Linked DNA regions of Homo sapiens: region 2 is linked to region 1. The links are contacts of gene promoters, found by promoter capture Hi-C in blood cells and fetal thymus (Javierre and others, 2016). All regions are on one chromosome and are shown on one strand. The core of a region is centred on a gene start or on the middle of the fragment in contact, and the rest is flanking DNA. Distances in the headings are between cores, read along the strand shown.

What was found. Contacts are between HindIII fragments. The CHiCAGO score rates a contact against its expected background, and 5 or more counts as called.
Region 2: a fragment that was not itself captured here is called in contact with the fragment with the promoter of POLR3B in region 1 in 1 of 17 cell types (naive CD4 T cells); the score reaches 5.4 in naive CD4 T cells.

What each region holds. Positions count from the first base shown.
Region 1 is chr12:106,353,744-106,360,069 of GRCh38, forward strand. POLR3B (RNA polymerase III subunit B) reads left to right here and starts at 4,005. Exons shown (of 28, transcript NM_018082.6): 1 at 4,005-4,208. The coding sequence starts at 4,137. The HindIII fragment of the contact is 8,226 bases long and covers 1-6,326 here.
Region 2 is chr12:107,754,894-107,761,219 of GRCh38, forward strand. It overlaps PRDM4 (PR/SET domain 4), which reads right to left and starts at 6,244. Exons shown (of 12, transcript NM_012406.4): 1 at 6,064-6,244; 2 at 5,612-5,878; 3 at 1,939-2,072. The coding sequence starts at 5,622. PRDM4-AS1 (PRDM4 antisense RNA 1) reads left to right here. Exons shown (of 5, transcript NR_120474.1): 4 at 3,382-3,499; 5 at 4,879-5,075. RefSeq lists silencers at 5,795-5,904, 5,955-6,326. The HindIII fragment of the contact is 238 bases long and covers 2,407-2,644 here.

The sequences.
Region 1 (6,326 bases), core at 2,755-5,254:
ATTCTTTCTCTGACATTGTTTCTGGTCTTCTCTAGTTCTATTATGAATTAATTGAGACATAGAAATCAGAACCATATGTATCTTTTTTCCCAGTCTGAATGCATCAAGGTTTCAAGAAAGGAAGATAATCTTTTTCTTTTGTTTCTAGCACCTTCATGTTGAAGCCTCTCAGAGCATGGTCTAATTTTTTTTACAGGGCATAACAGTCCGTGATGGTACAGCTCCAGTGGATCTTTCTAGTGTCATCTACAGACACGTCCCTTGAAAAGCCCTATGTGAGAACCACACTCAATTGTCAGAATGTGGTATAATGTACTCTAATGCCCTCATGCCATTGCTCACGCTGTGTTTCCCTACTTGAAACGTTTTCCGCTACCCCATGCTTTTGGTATGGCGTTATGATAGAGTGGTTAAAAGCATGGGTTCTGGGGTCAAATAATTATGGATTTAAATTCCAGCTCTGCTTGGGCAAGTGTCTTAACCCCTGTGAGCCTTAGTCTCTTTACCTTTCAAGTGGGGATAATCATACTTATCCCCGGGGTTCAGCACTCAATTAGAGAATGCACATCAAGTGGTCATTGCAATGCCTAAGAGTAAACACTCGGTAAATGTTAATATTTCAAGGCCCAGCTTGGACACCTCTGCCTTTCCTTTTTCCTTGCTCTCCCTTAAACAAGATCCCCTATTCCCCCATGGCACTGGTCAATTTTTCATCTGGCTACCATAAGCCATTGTACATTAAGTGATAAGATAGTATTCCAACATGTTAACCATTTTTCCTTCTGTGATTTTTTTTTTTTTTTTTTTTTGAGACGGAGTCTTGCTCTTGTCGCCCAGGCTGGAGTGCAATGGCGTGATCTCGGCTCACTGCAACCTCTGCCTCCCAGGTTCAAGCAATTCTCCTGCTTCAGCCTCCCGAGTATTTGGGATTACAGATGTGCGCCACCACCTCGGGCTAATTTTTGTACTTTTAGTAGAGACAGGGTTTCACCATGTTGGCCAGGCTGGTCTCAAACTCCTGACCTCATGATCCACTGCTTCGGGCTCCCAAAGTGCTGGGATTACAGGCGGCGTGAGCCACCGCGCCCAGCCTTGTGATCTCTTTTCCCTAATTTCCCACCCCTCTATTCAAACCACTGGTCTTTTTGTACTAATACCTCAGGAAAAGGACATGGCAGCAGAAAACAAAGAAATGCTGAGACTGTTCCTGGCTTCTTGGTTTCAAAACTCCAGTCCCTTAGGGTATCAGAAAGAAGTTATAGATTTGATCTGGGGGAAGGACTATGAGGGACTGTGGCAGCTATGGTCTAAGGGCCAACACCGTTCAGCATTAGCCGATTGTTGCCGTATAGGACTTTGGGACCATGGCTACCAGAGCCTCCTGCTTTTGAAGAGAAACTAAAAACAATCAGGATTCTTAAAAAGTGAGTATAATATCAAACATCACCCATTCGTTGCATTTTTTCTTTCAACTCACTCATTCAACACAAATATATTCAGGAACAACTGATGGGTTAGAAGTTGGAAACACAAAGACAAACAAGATAGTTCCCGTACCAAGAGCTCAGTCTGGATAATGAGACACATAAAAAGAGGATATGGCATTGAGTGATAAGTCTTAGGTTAGTGATTTCCAAAGCATAATCACTGGAAAGCAACAGCAGGGAACTTACTAGAAACGCAAATTTGCAGGCCGGGAGTGGTGGCTCACGCCTGTAATCCCAGCACTTTGGAAGGCCGAGGCAGGCGGATCACCTGAGGTATGGAGTTCGCGACCAGCCTGGCCAACATGGTGAAACCCCGTCTCTACTAAAAATAAAAATTTAGACGGGTGTGGTGGCGCATGCCTGTAGTCCCAGCTACTAAGGCGGCTGAGGCAGGAGAATCACTTGAACCCAGGAGGCTGAGGTTGCAGTGAGCCAAGACCGAGCCACTGCACTCCAGCCTGGGTGACAGAGTGAGACTCTGTCTCAAAAAAAAAAAAAAAATGCAAATTTGCAGCCAGCGCGGTGGCTCACGCCTGAAATCCCAGCACTTTGGGAAGCCGAGGCAGGCGGATCACCTGAGGTCAGGAGTTTGAGCCCAAACTGGCCAATATGGCGAAACCCCGTCTCTACTAAAAATACAAAAATTACCTGAGTATGGTGGCACGCGCCTGTAATCCCAGCTACTCGGGAGGCTGAGGCAGGAGAATCGCTTGAACCTGGGAGGGTACAGTGAGCTAAGATTGCACTACTGCACTCCAGCCTGGACGACAGAGTAAGACTCCATCCCCGCCCCCCACCAAAAAAGCAAAATTTCAGCCCCAATTTACCAATCAGAAAGCTGAGATTAGTTTAACAAGCTCTCCAGGTGATTCTGATACACCCTAAAGTCGGAGAATCACCTTGATAATGGAAAGCAAAGAAGACTTTGGCACAGACAACCAACACACTTGAGCCAACCTTGAGATCCTCTGCCATCTATAAATCACTTTCACAGTCCCTTCTAGGCTAGATGCTAAATTGGTTGCAATCTGGTAATGCACAATGATGAGACACAAGTTGTATCTTGTCTCTGTAATAAGTAAATTGTAAGAACTTCAAAGGCAGGGTTGATTCTACTTTTGGTGTTTTTTCCATTCTTCTCGTATTTCAGATATCAGTGCAATACTTAGAAAATACGGCCGGGCGCGGTGGCTCACGCCTGTAATCCCAGCTACTCGGGAGGCTGAGGCAGGAGAATGGCGTGAACCCGGGAAGCGGAGCTTGCAGTGAGCCGAGATTGCGCCACTGCAGTCCGCAGTCCCACCTGGGCGACAGAGCGAGACTCCGTCTCAAAAAAAAAAAAAAAAAAAAAAAAAAAGAAAATACAAGTACTGAAATTTAAGTAGCTCTTTAGTAAATAAGAATAATTAACCTGGTGCAAGGGTTCTACCTTTATGAGGGAGAAATTGGAAAGCATATATGTACTTACAAATTTTCATAACTTTTCTTATCGTTGTAAAATATACATAAAACTTAGCATTTTAACCCTTTAAAATGATGTACAGGTCAGCAGCATTAAATACATTCACACTGTTGTGCAACCATCACCATTCTCCATTTACAGAACTTTTGCATCTTCCCAAACCGAAACTCCGTACCCATTAATTAATTGGTGCATTTTGCCTTGTTTTTTCTAATAGGATTTTTCTTTCTGTTGATTTGTATGAGCTCATTTTAAATTAGAGAGACCAGCCCTTTGTCTTCTGCCAATTTATTTTTTATTAATTCTATTTGTTGGTGATTTTTTAAAATCTGTTCAGAAAATTAAAAATTTTCCGTGGAATCATAAAATCGTGTTTAGATTATAAAATCCTTTATGATTTGACTGTTGCCGTCTTGAAAGTCTTCAACATCTCAATGTTATGAATATCTGCACTTACATTTTCTTCTAAGTTTTTGTTAACATTTCAATATTTAATCCACAAAAGATTCACTTACATGTATTTTTTCCCCAAATGGGTAATCAGCTCTTCAAACATTATTTACTGGACAGGCCATCCTTCCCCTACTAACGTAAATGTCATCTTTTCATATTAAATTTCTCCATGCGCTGGGTATTTACTCCTACATCTTCCATCTAGTGCTTTTGAGAATTTTCAACACTCTTCCATTACACGCATGTACCATCATTTATTTAATCAATCTTCTATTGGTAGGCATTTGGGACGTTTCCTGCTCTTCCATACTAAACAATGCATAGAATTTTGGACTACATTAAATAATTCTCTGCCTCAGTGGTTCAAGTTGCGTAAATTATGCGTTTACACTTTTCTTCGGATTACTTTTAAAATGACAACCACTATGTTTTGCTGGTCTCAATTACCAGAGAATTGGCAAGAAACCTGACAGCTGGGGCTTAGGATTCCCTGCGCCAGACCTCCGAGCTACACCAGAGGGCGTACTTTCCTTACTCGGCCTCGGCCACATCCGGGTTCCACCGCAGATTCGGGCAGGGAGCGGGCGGAACCTTTCTACCGCGTCTCTAGCTAACACGCACGGCGGGGACAGTTTAGGCCTCCGCGCACCGTTCGCCGGGAGTCTTGCAGTTTGCTTGGTGCAGGGAAGGCGGGCGCGGAGGTTCTATCTGTTTCTTCCTCCTTCGTGAGCAGCATGGACGTGCTAGCGGAGGAGTTTGGGAACCTGACTCCGGAGCAGCTGGCGGCGCCGATCCCGACTGTAGAGGTCAGTGCCAGGCACGCAGGGAGCGTCAGGGACAAGGATGCGCCCTGAGGGGGCGTTGCCCGGAGTGCTCGGGCCGCCAAGGGGGCGGGCTGGCGGTTTGTGCGCATGCGCCGGGCTTCTGCGCATGCCCAGAGCGTCGCGCTTGCGAGTCTTTTTTCCAGAGCCGGCCTCCGCGTGCGCGAGTGAAGGCTGATCCCAGAGGAGCTGTCAGCCGCTGCGGGGGCCGAGAAGCCCCGCTGCTGGCTCTAGGGTTGGAGCTCTTCCAGCATAGGTGTGCGTGGGGAGGACTGACCCTCGCACTTACTGTGGGGGACGTATTGCATGTTTGCAGTCTTACAGAGGACACGGGGCCAGGGAGCTCAGGCCATTTGCATGAGGCACCACAGCCGGCTGTGGGGGTAAAACCAGATCGTCTGAATTCCAAGCTAGTCATCTTTCCTTTTAACTTGAAGTTCCAGTTTGGGTTGCAGGGGAATTTTAAACGCCCTCAATATTTACTAAAGAATTTGCCTGTGTGTTTTCTGGGGGAGAGACTCCACAGCTTTCATCAGCTTCTCGGAAGTTAAGGACAGCTGCCCCACAGCGAGCTGCCCAGTGAAGTGCGGCTGTCGACATATTTTGTTATCTGATAAGGCACATTTTGTAATCTCTCTGAGCCTCAAAATCTACACTGACGTGGAATAGGGAAGTGGAGACGTGGCCGGAGAAGATAGCAAAGGAGAGATTTCAGGGAAAGAGAACAGGATACTTGAAACCTCCTCGGCAAGACCATTGGATGTTTTTGAGGAAGGAAAGTAAATCCAGTAGTATTAGAGTGAAGAAAAATAGAGGAGAAGAGATAAAAGACAGGGTTAAGTAAGGGTCTTGATTATGAAAAGTTTCAATAAACATCTGACAGAGCTTGGACTTTGTCTTGGAGCAGAGCTTTTGAAGGGTTTAAGCAGGAAAGTGACATGATCAGTAAGTCTATCGGATTATAAGAACCTCCTTGGCTAGGCGTGGTGGCCTGTAATACCAGTAGTTTGGGAGGCCAAGGCGGGCGGATCACTTGGGCTCAAGAGTTTGAGAACAGCTTGGGCGACATGGCAAAACCCTGTTTCTACAAATAATACAAAAATTAGCTGGGTGTGGTGGCGTGCACTTGTCCCAGCAACTCAGGAGGCTGAGGTGGAAGGATCACTTGAGCCTGGAAGGTCGAGGCTGCAGTGAGCCGTAATTGTGCTGCTGCACTCCAGCCTGGGTGACTGAGACCTTGTCTCAAGGAAAACAAAACAAAACCTCTTTATAATAGTTTGACAAGTTAAGGAAGTTGAATTAGCAGTTCCAACAGATTCAGTCTATAAGTGCATGCAATAGGCTGCTGATCATCAGGCAAAACTATTTTTTTTTTTTTTTTTTGAGACGGAGTCTAGCTCTGTCGCCCAGGCTGGAGTGCAGTGGTGTAATCTCGGCTGACTGCAACCTCTGCCTCCCGGGTTCAAGCAATTCTCCTGCCTCAGCCTCCCAAGTAGCTGGGATTACAGGCGCCCACCATCACCGCCAGCTAATTTTTGTATTTTTAGTAGAGACGGGGTTTCACTGTGTTGGCCATGCTGGTCTCGAACTCCTGACCTCGTGATCCACCGCCTCGGCCTCCCAACGTGCTGGGATTACAAGCGTGAGCCACCGTGCCCGGCTGCAAAACTGTATTTTAACCGTGAAAAGTGAATATCAAAGAGCCAGCATTCACTGAGCACTTGCTAATGTGCCAGGTTCTGTTTAACCATAACATGCATTATGTTATTTAATCCTCTGAAATAAGTACTATTTTCACCCCCATTTTGCCAGAGAGGCCCAAAGATGTTAAGTAAATAGCCTTGCATTAGAAGCCTGGTAGTGGCTAATCTGGAATTTGGACTCTTGTCAGTCTGACTCGAGTCTTCATCCCTAACTGCTATCGGACCGCTTCTCCAGAGAGCTGAAGAAATAAGCCTGGGAGATTTCTATTTCTTATCTGAATTTACACAGCTATGAAGTGAACAGTGCTATAATTCCAGCCTTCTGATTGAAGAATAACAGTTCCTCTTCCTGCACTCTGTATCCAATCCACCATCACCTCTAAAAAGTCCTGAGTTCTTA
Region 2 (6,326 bases), core at 1,276-3,775, 1.4 Mb after region 1:
CTGTACATGTACACCTTCATACAATCTTTTGTATATATGCTACACTTAGTGATTAATAAAAGCTTTAAACGTGAGATTATATCTACTTTGAGTTATATGTACTTGCAAAGTGAAGTGACTTTTACTGGGCTAAGTATCATAATAAATACCCACCAACTTGGTCAGTGCTGATTTGCATATTTTTGCCAGGGGCAATATTTTTTTTTTTTGAGACAAGGTTTTGCTATGTTGCCCAGGTTGGAGCGTAGTAGCATGACCATGGCTCAGGCAACCTGAGCTTTCCTGGCTCAAGTGGCCATCCCTTCTCAGCCTCCTATGTAGCTCCTACGTAGCTGGGACTACGGGTGTGTGCCACCATGCGCTGCTAATTTTTTTTTTTTTCTTTGTAGAGATGGGGTCTCCTTATGTTACCTAGGCTGATCTTGAACTCCTGGGCTCAAGTGATCCTCCTGCCTTGGCCTCTCAAAATGCTGGGATTATAGGCGTGAGCCACTGTGCCTGGCTGGCAATATTTTTTAACAGGCTTTTCCACCTTAACAAGAGTGTCCACTAAAGGGAATGCCTACAAACAATCAAGTGGGTTAACCACTAATAATTTTTTAAGATTTCTTTTGTGGACACTTAAACAAATGTGAAGAGACCCTAGTTTCAATGAATCTTATTTAACTGCTGCATTTTATTAATTAAGCAAGTAATTCTCTTTAGAGAACTATTTAAACAATATATAGATTTATTTATACTAACTCCTACTGTGACAAAGAAAGTCCAATACATAACAATGTCATTGATCCTAAAGAACTGACAGCTTATCATTGTAATAATCAATAGAATATTTATTCCATTTATATTCTATTTCAATAGAATAAGAAAATGAAGCTAGGCAGAAAAAAGGTTTTAAAAGTACAGTGACGGCTGGCGCGGTGGCTCACACCTAAAATCCCAGCACTCTGGGAGGCCGAGGAGGGCGGATCACCTGAGGGCAGGAGTTCGAGACCAGCCTGGCTAATATGGTGAAACCCCGTTTCTACTAAAAATACAAAAAATTAGTTGAGCATGGTGGCGTGTGCCTGTAGTCTCAGCTACTCGGGATGCTGAGGCAGGAGAATTGCTTGAACCCGGGAGGCGGGCGGAGGTTGCAGTGAGCCGAGATCGTGCCATTGCACTCCACCTTGGTCGACAAGAGCGAAACTCCATCTCAAAAAAGAAAAAAAAGAAAATGAGCCAGGTGTAGGGGTGCATGCCTATAATCCTAGCTACTCAGGAGGCTGAAGCAGGAGAATCACTTGAACCCGGGAGGCGGAGGTTGCAGTGAGCCGAGATCGTGCCCCTGCACTCCAGCCTGGATGACAGAGTGAGACTCCATTTCAAAAAAAAAAGGATAGGAAGAATGAATTTTTCCTATACGATTTTGCTGTGTATGGAGGCTCATGAGGCGTTCCATGTAAAAGCCCCAGGTAAAAGTACCACACTTCTTTCCACATTAATTCTAGACCTGGTACACTTGCAGTTATTGCCATTTAATTTCAAACCTGGTGGAATATAAAGCCCAATTCCCCATGCTCTCTGGGAATAGTTATTAGAGTAATTTTAACTGATTCTCTTCTATTAACCCAGGGAACGGGTACTGAAGTGTGAACCAGATGAATGGGCAGCCCTAAATAAAATGCCAAGTTAATTACAGCTCTGGACAAAAAGCTACCAACTCAGAAGAGGACTATCAGAAAAAATTGCTGCTACTATCCACTAGAATTCTAATACTCTACCTCTACAAAAACCTTATTTTCCATTACCTATCACATGTTGAACCACCATTCAGGCCTGCTTACCTTCTCCCTTCTACCTTCTACCCTTAAAGGGGCTCTGATCTCTTCTAGACTCCATTTAGAATTGATAACAGAGTTAAGTGTTGAAATGCAGTAGGTCTCCCTTACCACTCACCTGGGGCAGGGATGGCACTGTGAGTGGGTGAGGCAGCCAATCCCAGGTGACTTCCTGAGACTGGCAAGGCATTGCTCACAGAGGATGAAGTCAGCTGCTCCATCCCCACTGGACTCAGGTTCATTTCATTCATCCTAGAAAAGAGCACACACAACTAGTTATGCAAAAATTTACTCCAATGACTCTGTATTAAGATACTGAAGAAACTGAAACAGTGGGGATGGGGAAATGGGACTTGGCCAACTATTAGTTCACTTTTACGCTCAACAATTCTCTTAGATAGCTAGTGCCATATTCTTTCTACTGATAAGAAAACTGAGATTGAGACATTAAAAACTCAATTCAATGTCACATAGCAGAAATAGGATTTGAATTCTGCCTTGTTCGAAACTCTAGGCACACCATCTAAAGCAAAGTCTGCAATTCTTAGAGCACAATGGCAATGACAGTTTTTTTTTAAATCACTCAAGCTTCATCTTTTATAATATTTATTTTTCTCCAAATGGCTTATTATTTCAAACCAGTAGTGTTTTAGGCAGCGCATTTTAACCTACTCAAGTAAATTTTACTAATCATTTTTAATAGGAGTTAAAGATCCAGATTATCGATGATGTGAAAAGCATCGTATTTTCCCCATTCAGCAACAGTTTACTAAGATTCTGTATCAGTATATTAATGTCCTCCAAATATTGAGGGTCATTATGTAAGCTTTGCTACCACTTCACTTAAAATGACTTCAAATCCTCACACCAATACTGCAACGTAAGATAGATGAGGGAACTATGGCTCAGAGAGGCCATGTCATATGCCCCAAATCACATAGCTATTAAGTGAAAGATCACAGATCAAACTGCAAAACACTGCCAAAAAGTTTTTCATTGCACCAAACTTTTTTTTAACTGCACCAAACTTTTTTTTTAACTACAGACTATTTTTGGCAAGGTGAAGAACCTAGGAATCACCTTTTCTATGCAAACCATCTTGCACTGCCATTACAAATGTCTTTCGAATAAGAGTAATACTGATTTGAATAAAACAGCACTGAAGGTTGTTATCAAAAAGTATTAGTTCTTATATCATAATTTAGAGACTGCCATACTATAAACATTACAGAACCACTAGGCTAGCCAACAGGTTACCCAAAAGGGGCTCTCTAATGACCTCCAGTCCTTACACTGGGCTTTATTCTCTGCGTATGGGAGGGGGTGAAGCAGAGAAGAGGAATCAAATGAGGTTACATATTCCTTAGCAGTGAAATCAAATCTAAATAGGTTTTTAATTCTGAAAAATGGCAATGCCATTTTATCAATCAACCTGAAAATAATAATAGCTAAAATTTATGGCTCCCTTACCATGTGCTATGTATTGGGCTAAGTGATTTATATGTAACTATCTCTCTTAATCTTCTTTTTTTTTTTTTTTTTTTTTTTGTTTTTGAGACAGGGTCTTGCTCAGTAGCTGCAAGCTGGAGTGCAGTGGCGTGATCACAGCTGACTGCTGCCTCTACCTCCTAGGCTCATGAGATCTTCCCACCTCAGCCCCCAAGCAGCTGGGACCACAGGCAAGTGCCACCATGCCTGGCTAATTTGTTTTTATTTTGCAGAGATGGGGTCTCCCTATGTTGCCCAGGCTGGAGGTAGGTATTATTCTTAATCCCACTTTAAAGATGAGGAAACTTAAGATTCAATGATGCTAGGAAACTTAACCCAGAATCACATAACCAGTAAGGAGAGCTGGGATTTAAATTCAGAACTAATTTAAGAAACCAAAGCTCTTAACTATAGTAAGAAAAAGACAATTACAATAAAAGAACTATATTGCCTTTTACACAGTTGCAATACATTAGGGCCTATCTACTTATATTGTGGCGTATATTTAAAGTTCCACATAGACCTGTTTCTTGCATTATTAGGTTTCACCCTTATCCCTGGCCATGGATCCCATAAAACTAAGCTCTAAGACATCAATAAAATGTAAAAGGCCAACCTAGTACCTTGTATAGAACAGACATTCTGAATTTTCTTATTTTATCGGATGGAGCTATGCAAACTCATCACCCTTACCAGAAAGACAGCTAGAAGCACCTGGCAAATGAGGTACACCTTATGAAGAACAGCATGCTAATAACAGTTTTTATTATGCTATAAAATAAAGCAGCCCAGGTGTGGTGATTTACACCTGTAATCCCACACTTTGGGAGGCCAAGGCAGAAGGATCGCTTGAGCCCAGGACTTGGAGACGTCCCTAGGCAACACAGTGAGACCCCTGTCTCTACTAAACATTTTTTTTAACTTAGCCAGGCATGGTGGTTCGTGCTTGTGGTTCCAACTACAGGGGAGGCTGAAGTGGGGAGGTCGGGGCTACAGTGAGCTCTGCCTGTACCTCTACACGCCAGCTGGGGTGACAGAGTGAGACTGTGTCTTAAAAACAAAAAAAGCAAAAAATCCCTGTAGCCTAAAGAAAACATATCTACCTTAATTTTGAAAGTTGCTGGGCTTGAGTTGGTTTAAAACAGACTTTTCCCTAACTCTTTATAGCTACAACCATAATTAAAACACTACAATCACTACAGCTGTAACAGCCTACTTAACAAATTGGTTACAATATTTTTTTAAAAGTACAACTACAAGTCTGCACCTTCAACTCTCATTCTGAAAATTCCTGAATATTTATTTAATTTCAAGATAAAAATCAGCATGGTGTTTCTAGGTTGACTCCTAGGCCTTCTCAAACCAGTTCAAACCAGAGTTTAATGCGAGAGGCTCAGCAGATTTCTGCTTTGTTGTGAGTCACTAAAACGTGATGACCTCAGCAGCCATAAACCAAAGGTAATGAGTATCCCACAGAGAGAAGGCAGATGAAGGGAATGTACAATATGATCCTCATAAGACTTTCTCATTCTAAAATGCAGTTCTATTCTCATTTTCTTTCTCCTATGAGATTCTAAGAAGCAATCCCGGAAGAAGGCAAGAATCAAGATACTAAGCTCTATCTTCCCTACTCATTTAGGGTAAAATAATTTCCTACACAGTTCTACAGTTTATGTGTGTGTTTCTAACTGACCTATGCAACCATCTGCCAGTTGCTGATTTTACACCTTTTTCTTCGCATAAAATATAATAAACTAACTGAAATGCAGCCACTTTGAAAAATGCAGTGGGGCTTCAATAATTTCAATGAATTTGTGCCTTATCTTCCTTATTCTAAACATACGGCCTTTGAAAGGGCCTTGAAAAAACAGCCAAATGCAACAATTTCTGTGGCCTGCTTCTGTACTTAAACATCAGCATGAAGCTTGCAGAATTAAGAACTTAATTCCCTCACTATCGTCCCTGCCATACCAGCAAAACTCAAGGTGAAGCATAATAAGATAACAATACACGTTGGAATCCGGAAAAATATATTAAACGCTCAAATAACTGAAAGACACAGGAAAAGGTGTCAACAAGCCAACAATAAACGTGTGGCTACTGGGAACAACTTTCCACATGTGGAGTAAATTAGGATGCATGAGATTACATTCCACCCAACACTAGTTTCTGGATTTGTTTCCTTTGCAAATCACACCTGTAACCTTCTCAATGGCACCAAAAACAACGGCACTGACCCTGGACACTCACTCGCCAGAGTTTCCAACGATGTCACCAGTGCTGAAGCCCACCTCCCTACTCACCTGTGATGCATCGGCTTGGGGCCAAATATCAGAGAAAGGAGCGCTCGGGTGGTGGGGAACAGGCATCAGGGTTTGCGTTCCAGGGTCACGTGCTACCACATCTTGCTCACAACCGCTGCACCGACGCGGCCACTCGTCCCCGGGGTCGCCCGGGGCCGCCCAACTTCTCCCGAGGGCCGGTGGCCGTGCACCCCGCCACGGGTTGGGGCATCTCGGGGAACACCTGGGGCCTTCCGTCCAGAAGCTTCGGGAAGGGGGCTGCCCAACCTGGGGGAGTGGGGACAAGAGCGGTCACCAAAACCACAACAAGGTCGCAGCCCCCATCCCAGCTACCCGAAAGCCCCAGGCGCTGCCGACACCGCCACCCAAGGGCTGTGGATTAGCCCGCCCGCGGCCCGCAGGCCGGGCCGCCGCGCCCCGCCCCGCTCCGGCCGGGCCCGCGCGCAGCCCACCTGCCAGCTGCGCTGGGGGCGCACGCGCCTGCCCCACTGCTTTGTTCCTCATCCGGGCAGAGTTCGCCTCGGGGCCCTGCCCGTCCGCTCGGCCCCCTCACCCCGGGGGCCGCTGCCCTAACGTTTCCCGTCCCGCCCGGCCCTTCCCGGCCCGCGGCCTCCTCTGGGCCGCACCCTCTGCGGCGCGTTTCCGGATCCTCAGCCACTCTCAGCGCCCGCCGCTCCGCCCCTCGTGCGTGCGCCCTCCCCGCCGCGGCCCGCAA